Linked DNA regions of Homo sapiens: region 1 is linked to region 2. Evidence: promoter capture Hi-C in 16 types of primary human blood cells and fetal thymus (Javierre and others, 2016). All regions are on one chromosome and are shown on one strand. The core of a region is centred on a gene start or on the middle of the fragment in contact, and the rest is flanking DNA. Distances in the headings are between cores, read along the strand shown. Region 1 overlaps ADSS2 (adenylosuccinate synthase 2). Region 2 holds the start of ZNF496 (zinc finger protein 496).

Region 1 (5,713 bases), core at 3,087-5,586, 2.9 Mb after region 2:
AGTTTTGTGTGTTAGTGAAAATATGTCCTTTGTTAGAGTTTAATATATTCTGCCATATTTATGTCATGAGTTCAAATTTTATTCAGTACTGTTTCTCCAGAAGTGATGTACACATAATGTATCCGTATTTCACCAGTAGACTCATAAGGACTTTCTCCCAACATAAAATATAGTTTTAAAAAGAAAAACTGGCATTGCATTTAATGATAAATTTTAATGTATAAAATGCCTTTTTGGAAACAATAGATGCAAACCTAGTGGCGTTTTCACTCTTAACAGCGCTTAAGGCCTGTGTTGTTCAGATTCAGGATTTATGGGGAGTTATTTATAACTTGGTAGGTTCCCCAGATCCATAAATATGTAGGACTTGCATCAAAGGACAACCACTACTGCTGCCTTAATTTTAAATCAATATTTATTTTAAGAAGAAGAGAGAAGAATTAAATAGAGGCCCAACCCTGGGTACAGGTCATTCATCTAGTAAACATTGAGTATCTGCAGGGGATCACTTAGCCTGGGAGTCAAAAATCTGAAAAAGGCAGGGATTGTGCCCACAAGGAGCTCACAATCTGGGGGACAACTGCTGTGTAAGCAAAAGTGTTGAGAAGGTCGGGATGGAGAAAGGTACTAGTCTAATACGTTTCTCAAGAGGTTAAAGTATGGGACCAAGAAAGTCCCTTTCTGGCATCACAAAAGGAAGCCTAATACTGTTTTTTCCCCAGTTCTCTCAAAGTAAAATACTGTGCTTTGTTTTCTGTATTTTGCTGAGTAGAAGCTACAGAAACTTCTTAACTATAGTAGTTTATACCAGGCTTTAAGCAAAGGCTTACTTATTTATTGTTCTTGAGGAAAGTAACTTCGGTGGTCTTGGTTATAATGACACACATGAAGTTGCCTGTGATCGGGAAAGGCTAGAGCAGTGTTCCGTGTGTATTCTCTCCAAGGCTTCAAAGTCAATAAAAAGAGAAAATACTAAAGTTAGTCATAAGGGAAAGCACACCCCATCACTTGATATATGTTTATAAAAGCTTGCTATAAAAATAAACATACTGAAAAAATATTACTATTTTCTAGCTAGATACAAGTATCTGCTGAAGATCTGAAACCACTATTAGTGTTAAAGAAGCATAAAAGACATATCAGCAGCAAACTAAAACTTTCTCCTTGAAATAGAAAAGGTGAAAGATAATTTAAAAGAAAATAACGTTAGTATTATTTAATGCCTTGACCTTGTACAGCTAAAATGATCTGCCAGACTACTTCCCATAATTTTAAGGATAGTAGGTAATTAGCATTTAAGGTAAGCCATTCTTCCAGGTTTATAACAATTGCTATTTCCATTTTTCTGATTCTTTTTATATCATTTATAGCATTTCCCTAGTATATAAGTATTTACCAATGTCTGTTATACTATACTTGGTTAAATCTTGTTCTGTTTGGTTACTGTGCTTTCTCTACTATAATGTAAATTTTCTCAAAAGGGAGACTTCTTCCTTTTCTTATTCTGTAGCACCTAATACTATATGAAGCAGAAGGGAAATACTCAACCAATGTATTCTGGGTGGCAAGATCACCCCTGGAAATTTATTTGAAATAAATAATAGTAACCCTTTCTTGTAATTGTTTTAACATCTCTCTGGACAATTTAATTGACTGGTGGCATACATTTAAGGCGGAATTCCTAGCATTCCTTGGATTAACATTTGTTATTTAGTTTTTCAGCTGGAATTTTTTACATTGTACCATTCAAAGTCTTTGTTTATATTAAAATCTTATCTCTTGTTTTTAGGAGAAAATAGGTAACTGATATTTATATCTTTTTCATGTATCTCCTCAACATATTTCGACTGAATACCATGTGGGGTTCTAGTAACTAGTTATTCCCCGCTGAGGACAGTAAATCTCAATGTTCGGTCAATGAGGATGTCCTATTGCAGTTAGTAAATATAGTATCCTGTCAGCTCTACTTTTGAGGCATGAGTTTTTAAACGTGTATGAGACCATCTCAGTGGTGTCTGATCAAAATTATTCTGTTTCTTTAACTTTGGTGGGAATGGATGGGTTTGTTGGATGTTTACAAGTATCTCTAAGAAAAACTGTTGCCTAGAGCAAATCTAGAATGAACCAATAAATTGATATTTACTTAATAGCTTTCTTTCTGTAACTGGATACGAATCCAGCTATCTTATCTCTCAGGGACTGTGTCAGATGTTGACACCAAAGATTAGTGTGGATGAGCTACATATTGATAAATTAAAATTGGTGACTATTGTAATACTTTTAGCAACAGAAACATCAACATTCAGTATTGCCTGCTGAAAGCAATGAAAAGAACAATAAATGAAGGGGAGTTCCTGTGGCTAATCTGGCTCTGGGATGGGATAGTTCTTTACATTGAACCAAAATTTATATTTGATTCATATAACAAAATTCTTTTTTGAAAAGAGGCTCCATGAGATTTCTAAAAATGAGATTTTTGTCTATATTAAGTTTTAACATCTTTTTTAAAGGAAGAATTTTATTATTGAGAAAACTTTTTTGACTTGAAATCTGTAGTTTAATTTCAATGTGTTTTTAAGAAAATATTTTCATGAATTTAATTAGGTGAATTTTTATCAAACATTTACAAAGAGCTGTGTGACATCGTTGGTTTATACATTTTTGGTTGGATGTCTTATGGCCTCATCTATGACCCTGGTTTGGTGAGTGTGAAAGAATATTAGAGTTTGGTACCCAGAGTCTAAAGCTTCTTAGGAACCTAAGATTCTCTCAGGCAAGGCCCCTTTCCACTTTCATTGTGAGAAGTTATTTCATAATAGTAATGTTAGGTCTAAAATATAAGGTATCTGAGGTTTTCATCATTTGTGACATTTATGTGTGTATGAAACTAGAAGGTAACTATAATCATGCAAAGTAAAGTGGATACCTTTAAACCTTTAATGGATAACTGAGCTGGGATATCTTTGCTAGAAAGAAATTCAGATACCCTGTGTATTTTTTTCTCTTGCTGTCTAGTGTGTCTGGTTACTGCTACATAGTTAAATTTGATCAACTTGCTGGTAGTAACTTAACCTGCTCTACTTTGGAATCATAAGCTAATTGCAGTTATGTGAATGCTTTCATGAAAGAACAATCATCATTTATAACTGCTTTATTGCTGTGGATTGATAAGTGCTTTAGTTTTGGTGAATGGTAACATGTTTCATCTGGAAAGGAGGAGACACAGATCTTACAATCTTTACCCTGAAAGCAGCATAGATAATAAGCATTGACTCCAAAGATTTTTAGGCTCTTAAGAAGTTTGAAGATTAGACAAAAAAATAGCAACCCTTTTTTGGTTGCTGAAATAGTTCAGGGGCATGGGATCTGAGACACTGCTGCTCTCTCCTGTAATCCATAGTGGCCACTGACTTCCTGATGTTCATTTTGAGCTCTGTGATTACAGTAGGTTGTTCATATATTCAAAGCAAAAGGACAAAGATAAGACACAGAGGCCTAACTAGCCTGAAAAATGCCTCTGGGCTTTGTGCATGAAATTGGTAGCCCTTGACACTTGGGCCTGTATTCTGGAAAAGAGACCATTGTTTCAGGTTTACAACACTGAGGATCATTCACTGCCTTCATCTCTCTACCACAGCAGAAATGCACTTGGGGGAGCGAAGAAAGGAGTGATTTAGGGAAGGAGAAGGCCCAGTAGTGAAACCAAGTTAAGAATCAAGAGTCACTTTTGTAAACTAATATCATTTAATTCCTTTCCAAACTTTTTTTTTTTTTAACCTCCCCTGGACCTTTGGAGCTTCTTAGCTAGAAGCTTACACATATTAGCATTTCCTGATCCAAAATTTTATTCTATAATTGGATTTGACAGCCTCTGGTTCTGAGGAGTCATGGAAAGAAAATTCAAAACACTTGTCTTCCGACTTCCTTAAACTAAACATCAAATTAGGAAGAAAAGGAATGCATGGAAAAACTGAGAACAGTTACAGAATAACTAAATACTATTATATCATTCCTCTATCCTGCAGTAATGCTTTAAAGTATTGTCCTTGACAGCATAAAATGTTATTAATATCTAGCAATCATTTTAATATTCAGTTTCACTAGTACAAGATGTAAATTCAGCAAGGTGTATATTATGTTGTAGTAAGTTTTTTTTGTGAATCATTTGTGTTCTTTGTTTGCAAGCAATGGAAAGAAACTATCTCAAGCAAAATGGGGATTTGTTTAAAGGAAGAGCAGGATGGTGGCCTGAGATGAAGCCTGCTCCTGGAATTTCAGCAGCTAGAACTGGCAACCTTTTTCTTTAGGATGCTTCCCGTAGGTGACAGGCATCTCAGACTGCTATTGCTTTCCTTCTCAGTACTCAAATTCAGATTCCCAAGGGAGAGGAGCTGACTGGCTCAGGTTGGAACATGTTTCCCTGCCTGGATCAGTTTGCTGTGGCTGGGGGGATGATTCCTATGATTTGCAAAGTAGGGGAAAAGGAGGGGGACTGAGCATACAAAAGCTATAACTAACCTGGAGTTAATTTTGTATAGGAAAATAAGGTATGAGGAAGCATTTGTTCTGGATTGTTCTCATTTATAAATTGTTTTCCAAAACTCTAATGTGCTATTGACCTGTAGTGCTTTTCTGGAACAAAAAATAGAGTTAAATTGGTTTTTATTATTTTAACCTTAATTAAAATAATGAAAATTAGCTATGTATTGATGGTAAAAACTAAAAGCATACATCAGAAACTTTGCTTTTCAGCTTTGAGAACATAGAATTTTAGTCCTGCTTTTTGTTTCTATCATGATGTTCCAGTTTATTTCATAGCTCTGTGATGAGATACATTTTTTCCTGGTAATTAAGAAGCTTATTTAATATTTTCTTTGTATTTCATCTTTTTTTTTTTTTTTTTTTTTTGAGATGGAGTCTCGCTCTGTCGCCCAGGCTGGAGTGCAGTGGCGGGATCTCGGCTCACTGCAAGCTCCGCCTCCCGGGTTCACGCCATTCTCCTGCCTCAGCCTCCCAAGTAGCTGGGACTACAGGCGCCCGCCACTACGCCCGGCTAATTTTTTGTATTTTTAGTAGAGACGGGGTTTCACCGTTTTAGCCGGGATGGTCTCGATCTCCTGACCTCGTGATCCGCCCGCCTCGGCCTCCCAAAGTGCTGGGATTACAGGCGTGAGCCACCGCGCCCGGCCTGTATTTCATCTTAATGTAAGAATAACAGTCAAAGAAAATTGGTAAAATATATACTATATTAGGGGATGTTTTGTGACTGCAATTGAATTTTCTTTCATATATTGTTCACTTTAATAAAATTAACCTGCATTTATTCTTGGTATTTAATATAAGAAGAACATCATATAAGGCATTATAAGCTTATGCTTTTCCTCAAAGAAACCTGCCACGTAGCTACTTGTGGACTCATGCTGTTTTTTGTTTCTTGGGGTGTTGGTGGGGGGTAGGGTATATTTCAGAAGTAAAATGGTTTAAAAATTGGCCTCAACCTGAAAGCCTGCCATGCAGTGTTGTGGCACTGATGGAAGTGTGAATGAGAAGGCGGTGTCAGCACGTGGCTGGAGAGCCGCTCCGCCACTCTGCCACTCCGCCTCCCTGCCACGTGGCTTGTGAGGAGCCACTAAACCTTTCCGTGCCTAGGCCTCCCCATCTGTGGAATAGTCAGTACCACCTACTTCATAGGGGTGTTGTGCGGACTGAAAAA
Region 2 (6,018 bases), core at 3,158-5,657:
TGGGGGGAGGGAAGGGGGTGGGGATAGAGAGCTAGAGATCAATAGAGAGAGATGAGGGAGACTGTTTTCTTTTAAGGAACTGATTGGCTTGCAAGTCTAAAATCTGCAGGGCAGGCTGCAGATCCAGAAAGCCGAAGCTGCAGCAAGTCGGAAGGCGCGCCGCAGGGGGAGTTCCTTCCTCAGGAGACTGCAGTCTTTGCTCTTACGGCCTTCGACAGATTGGATGAAGCCCGCCCACGCTATGGAGGGTAACCCGCTGCATTCAAAGTCTACAGATTTAACTATTAATCATATCTAAAAAACAGCCTCACAGAAACACCAGACTGGTGTTTGAACAAAAACTGAGTACCACAGCTAGCCAAGTTGCCTCATAAAATAAAACGTCACACTTGCTCCTTATTTTACTGGAGTGTTGGCAAAGTTGGAAGAAGCCTGCCCCAGGCTCTCCCTGCCCAGATGCTGTGGACATGCCTCAGGTCCAGAGGCAGCCTTCCCTGCCCTCCGGCTCCCCGTGGGCCCTGGGTGCCAGCCCTCCCTCCTCCAGGCGATGCACTGCAATTTCTCCCATCTTTAAGATGAGACCGTTTTTCTCCACAGGGCTGTGTCCACTCTCATCTCCCTTCTCTTCCAGAAAGTGCCCTAGCCCAGGAGCTCCACTGTCTGCTTTGCTCAGGGGCCTCTCTACCAGATTCAATGGGCAGTGTTCTTTCCTCATCGGATTTGATCTTGGCGCAGGATTTATCCCCCTGACCTCTTTCTCTCCTTGAAACACAGGTGCTCACTTGGATTCCAGGGCTCCACACCTGCAATTTTCCTTTTATCTCAAGGCGGCAGCAGCTCTCCCTACCCCCTTCTCTTGCCCTCGTCCTCCCTCACTTTCCTCCTCCTACTTCCCCTTCTCTCCCTTCTCCTCCACTAACCCCTTGGGCTCCCACGGTCCAGGGCTGGCATTTCGCAGGGTCTGCCCTCCCTGGGGCTGCTTCTCAAAACACACTCAACCCTCTCAAGCCCCAGCTCCTGCTACATACGGTGACTCCAGATTTCCACCTCCAGCCACAGCTTTCTATCCCAGAGGGTCATCCCCACTTGTCTCCTGGGCATCTGAAAACCAGCAAGTCCCAAATCCACCAATTCAACCCCAAACCCAACCCCTTCCTGGAAACCTGCTTCCTTGCATCTGCCATCTCTAGAAGGCCTGTTCAGTCACCCAGTTTCAGCCCCAGTCACAGCCGTTCCTCACTCCTCTAACACAGGCAGCATGCCTTCAACACAGAGCCTGGATTGGGCCTACTGTTCACCAGCTGTGCCTCCACCAGTCAACTCCAGGAACCGAGCATCTCCTGCCGGGATCTCTACAACGATTCCTAACAGAGACTCTGCTTCATCTGTTCTGCACAGTGATCTTGATAAAATCAAGATTCCGTTAGGCCACACTCCTACTTGAAACCCTCTAATGACTATAACATCTGGTGACCTGGTTCCAGCCTCACCATTCTCTCACTATTCCTCTGCCCAGCTGAGCAAGCACACGCTGTTTCCTCTGCTGGAATACTCTTCCCACACACCTCTGCTCAGGAGCCCCCCACCTGCTCTCCACTCAAATGTCACCTCCTGACAGAGGCCCTACCTGAACATCCCCAGCACACTCTTCCCCACCATGTTGTATTTCTTTCATGACACCGATCACCAATGGCGTTATATTGCAGAATCGCTGATTTATTATTTGATTCCCCTCCCAACTCCTTGGATCATTCTTCTATGGTCTCCCCATGGATCGAATAATCATTGGCACATAGCAAACATTTCATAAAAACAGATACAATTGGCAACATTATATTCATACAAACCTAATACACGCACACACTGGGCATGATGATGGTGCAGTCCTTGAGCAGGGTTTACAGGCAGGATCCTCTTCCCGATGCTTCACCCGTGGTATCTGATACAACCCCACTTCATTCAGAGGCGAACACCTTCCCCACGGGCTCCTGTGCCCCCACCCAGCTCTATGCCATCCCTCTCCTCTCACTCACCAGCCCACCTTGCTTCGCACCGCTCCCCCTTAGGGCCTTTGCTGTCAAGGTGGTCTCCATGTGTCAAACAGGGACTCTGACCAACTACTTCATCTCAAATACCACCTTCACAGTAAGGCCTGCCTGCCCTCCTCTTTAATACCATGACTGTTACCAGCCCCTCCCCAGCACTCCTGACTTCCTGATGCCTCTCCACTTTCCTTTTTTTCTGTAGCACAGATCAAAGAGAGCAGGTCATGTTACTGATTTTGCTTCCTCCAATAGCCAGTTGTGTTCACAGATGTACCTGAGCACCTGGAAGGCTGGCTGCCTAGCACTCATGAGTGTACAGTAGGTACTCGGTATAGGTTTGCTGAATGACTGAATCTTTGATCCTGCACAACCATCCAATGAGGTAGACAGCATCATCCCTGTTTTCTGGATGAGGAAGTTGAGGTACAGAAAGGTTATGTAGGCCTGAGGTCACCTGGCTAGGAATTCATAGGGCAGGATTTAATCCGGGTGCCTGAGTCCAGAACCTTGACTCTGAAGCCCTGTTTTGAGCTAAATGCAGCAGCAGCATAAACAGCCCGTTTTGTGCCTCAAAAGGTGAACAGTGGGAGGCACAGCTGGGCAGGGACGTGTCAGGTCAGGGGAAGAAACTGAATTGGGTAGTGGGGATTAATTGGATGCTGTCTGCCAGCAATTTCTGCCTCCTGCATTTTATCTGCTTTAGGGTTGCAAGGGGCAGAGCTATGAACACGGATGCCCACTCAACAGCCAGTTCCTGGGCCAATCAAAGGGTTGGGAGCTGTAGCACCAGAGCTCTGGAACCCCACAGACTAGGATGTTTGCTAGAGCACCTAAGCCCTACCAGCCTTTGATGACCCCTCGGTTCCTCCCAATTCCTCTCCTCCATGTCACGGTTCCTGGCTGGTGTTCCTGAGAGTGGGCTGTACATGAGTTCTGTAAATGCCAGTCCAGTTACGTCAAAGGGGGTGGCTCTCACTTGTACCTGTAGGCTCCAGCTAAGATCTGCGTGGCCCTGCCCGGCATCTGGCTGTCATCCGGGAAACAATCACTGTTCACAAACAAGGGCTTCACTCCTTCGCTCGCTCCATCTCCTGCTAAAGTCAGAATGTGAACACTGACAAACAGCGGCTCCCAGTAACTCTGCTAGTCAGAAGTGATTATTCCAGCAGTTCAGAGGAGGAAGTGGCGGTGCCCAGGGCCACGGGATTAGAAGAGCAACGGAGCTAAAGGATCCCGTGCCTCAGTCCAACCACCTTGTTCCCACTTACTCAGCCGGGCCACTTTCTTTGGAGAAACTGATTTCCTTCTGCTTGCCCTTGAAAGGGGATCCGAAGGAAATCGGAGCTACCGGCAGTAGCTACCCTCCGGAAGACGGAGAATCTTCTCCACCTTCTCCTCTGCGTAGGAGAATCCAATTTCGGTGCAGAGCAGATGGCGAAGGGGCCATGGGAATCAGACCTGCTCAGGGACCGGGTTCGCACTTTCTCTCAAGCTCTGGAGCCTGAAAAATGAGCATTCCCCGGGGACGACCCATGTAAGAATTTGGGCTATATTCAGCATAGTGCAGCGGCCAGCAGCCCTGTCTCGGGGTGGGGTCCGGAGGCCCCCATTTCTGCTTGCCCCTCACTGCCACATAACCTTGGGTCAGAGTCCCTCATCCTCTCCCTCCGCCACTGTGCACAGCTGCAACCGTGTTCACTTCAGCGAGCAACGAGCCCCGTGACCCCCACTCAGGGTCAGGACTCACCGCAGCCCCTCTGCGCAAGCCCCGAGGCTCTGCGTGGCCTCCGGATGCGCGGCCTTTCCTAACCCGGGGACTCCGCACGTGGGCGCCAGGCCCGGAAGGCGCGGATGTGAGCGCTACCTTCGGCGTCCCGCAGCGGCAGGAGGGGCTGGGCGGCCCGGGCTTCGGCTGGCGGCGGGGGGGGGGTCGCAGGGGAGTCTGAAATGAGGCGGCCGACGGCGCGCGGGGCCTCCTCTCTCCGCTCCATCCCGCACCCCCAATTCCAGCTTCCATCCCCAGCCGCGACTCCCGGTCGGCCGTTCCGGGCGTCCACTGGCCGCGTGTCCTGGGGGCGCCAGAGAAGGAGAACAGCGGAGAAAAGAGCCCCGGGCCGACCTTCCGGACCGGCGGGCCCGCGGGGAAGCCCGGGCGCGGCGACGTGGCTGACCCACAAAGCCCCCGGCCCGGCGGCCAGGCCCAGGCGCGCGCGGAGCGGGGCGGGCCGGGGGTGTCGGATGTCACCCCCAGCGCACACCTCGGCCGGGGGGCGGGGGAGCGAACCACTGAGATGCGGAGACCTCCCCAGTCCTAGAGCGGAGCAGGAAGTGTCCCAGGGGAGGGAGCCGGAGGGCTCCGGCCTTTCCTTTCCTCGGCGTCCGGCGGGCTCCCGCGGCGGCCAGGCCTGCGCCGCCCGCCAACAGGGACGCGCCGCGGCGGTGAGTGCACCCCGGCTCCCGCGGCCGGCCCCGCCCCGCCCTCCTCGGCCCGCGCCCGGCCTCCGCGGCGCCGCCTCCCAGCCCAGAGCCCAGCGCTCAGGAAGGTGCGGGCGGGGGAGAAAGCAACACCATTGTTTTTCAGGCGCCTCCATTTGCCCCCGAGCCGAGCCGTGGCTTTCCGGATGATCGGGAGACGCGGTCTGGACGGGCCGGGAAAGGAGCCGGGCGCCTGCGGAGACCCCGCCTCAGCGAGTACGCCCGGCCGGGCGGGCTGGGAGGATGAGGACGGCTGCCCTGGACTTCCGCCGCCACAGGAGGGTTTTCGGCCGGACGCCGGGAGGGAGCTCCAGGCTGTGAGGTGAGGAGCCCGGAGCCGGCGAGACGGGAGACGCGCGTGTGAGGGAGACCGAGGGCGCGGAGGGCGGGCTCCCCCTTCCCTGGCCCACAGCGACCTTCTCCTTCCCTTTCTGCCGATCCAGCTCGGTCCCTCCTCCGCGAAAGGCTGGGAGCTCGCTCCGCCCCTGCGGGGCCCTCCTCCGCCTCACTCACGTTAGTTCATTCATCAGGCATCTCCTCCGAGCCTCCGACGCGCCAGGTGCCGCCGTGACAAAGACGGACGCGGCCGTCTGGTTGGAGACGATCCGAGTGGCAGCCCGGGTGGGCGCCGGTGCTCGGGGGGGCGGGCCTGAGTAGTCCTGGGCGCTGCAGGTGTGTGATGGGCGCCGCAGGGGGCCGCCGAGCAGGGCGGGCGGGGCCCACCCCGGGCTCCAGATGCCGGAGCCGCCCTGGAAGCGATCCGGTGGTGGGGAGCGCTGTAATGCGTCCAGCCCGACGCCGCCACGGCCCCCATATGGGTTTCTGTGTATGTTGTTACTTTGGAAAGCAAAGAGATTCAGAGCAGTGGGTGTTTCTGGAACCACTCAGTTGTTCCGTAGCTTTTCTGGCATCACTTGTCTTTCTGTGAAATGGGAGTGAGGCCCGAGTCCCCCTTCCCACCTTGTGAGCTGTTGGAGGTTAAGACGCGGCCACGCTGGACAACCTCGTGCAGATGGGGGAGTGGCAGGCACTGCCGGTCCTAAGGATCACAGAGGCCTGATGGCAGAGAAGGGGACTGTGAGTGTCCCCATGTGCCCTTTCACGGGCCCAGCGTTCTAAAGTGGGAATCATAAACACCAGGTATACTGGTTGCTGGTCTCTTGCCACCCTAGTTGTGGCAAAAGTGTCGGCTAGTTGTCTGCACACCAGCGGGGAGGTGTAGGGACCCCTGAGTCCCACCTTGGGGGTGTGGCAGCTGCAGTGTCCAGGGGTTCTTTGAGGGCTGAGCTGTGCAGTGACGGACCCACTTTTCTGTCCTGGCCGAGGAAGGGCTTTGGCGAGTGTGCAGTTGCCTTCAATGTGGTTTGAAGAGGGCAAGGATAGAGAATAGGGTGGAGGCGAGGTTGAAGGTCAGGGCAGAATTGGCAGAAGGCTCATAGGAAACCACTGATACTTCTAGATGCAGTGTTATTTGTCCCTGGTAGACTGCATGTAGCTG

Evidence for each region. Contacts are between HindIII fragments. The CHiCAGO score rates a contact against its expected background, and 5 or more counts as called.
Region 1: a fragment that was not itself captured here is called in contact with the fragment with the promoter of ZNF496 in region 2 in 1 of 17 cell types (fetal thymus); the score reaches 6.2 in fetal thymus.

What each region holds. Positions count from the first base shown.
Region 1 is chr1:244,443,710-244,449,422 of GRCh38, reverse strand. The region is part of intron 1 of ADSS2 (adenylosuccinate synthase 2); the gene reads left to right. Among named protein-coding and RNA genes, the nearest start is that of ADSS2, 5.3 kb to the left of the region's middle. The HindIII fragment of the contact is 1,046 bases long and covers 3,814-4,859 here.
Region 2 is chr1:247,330,256-247,336,273 of GRCh38, reverse strand. It overlaps ZNF496 (zinc finger protein 496), which reads left to right and starts at 4,407. Exons shown (of 10, transcript NM_032752.3): 1 at 4,407-4,484; 2 at 4,627-4,842. It overlaps ZNF496-DT (ZNF496 divergent transcript), which reads right to left and starts at 4,220. Exons shown (of 3, transcript NR_168399.1): 1 at 3,028-4,220. LOC124904574 (a long non-coding RNA gene) reads left to right here. Exons shown (of 2, transcript XR_007067004.1): 2 at 110-399. RefSeq lists enhancers at 1-461, 4,233-4,527 and silencers at 2,433-2,727, 3,840-4,319, 4,450-4,559, 5,130-5,369. The HindIII fragment of the contact is 9,597 bases long and covers 1-6,018 here.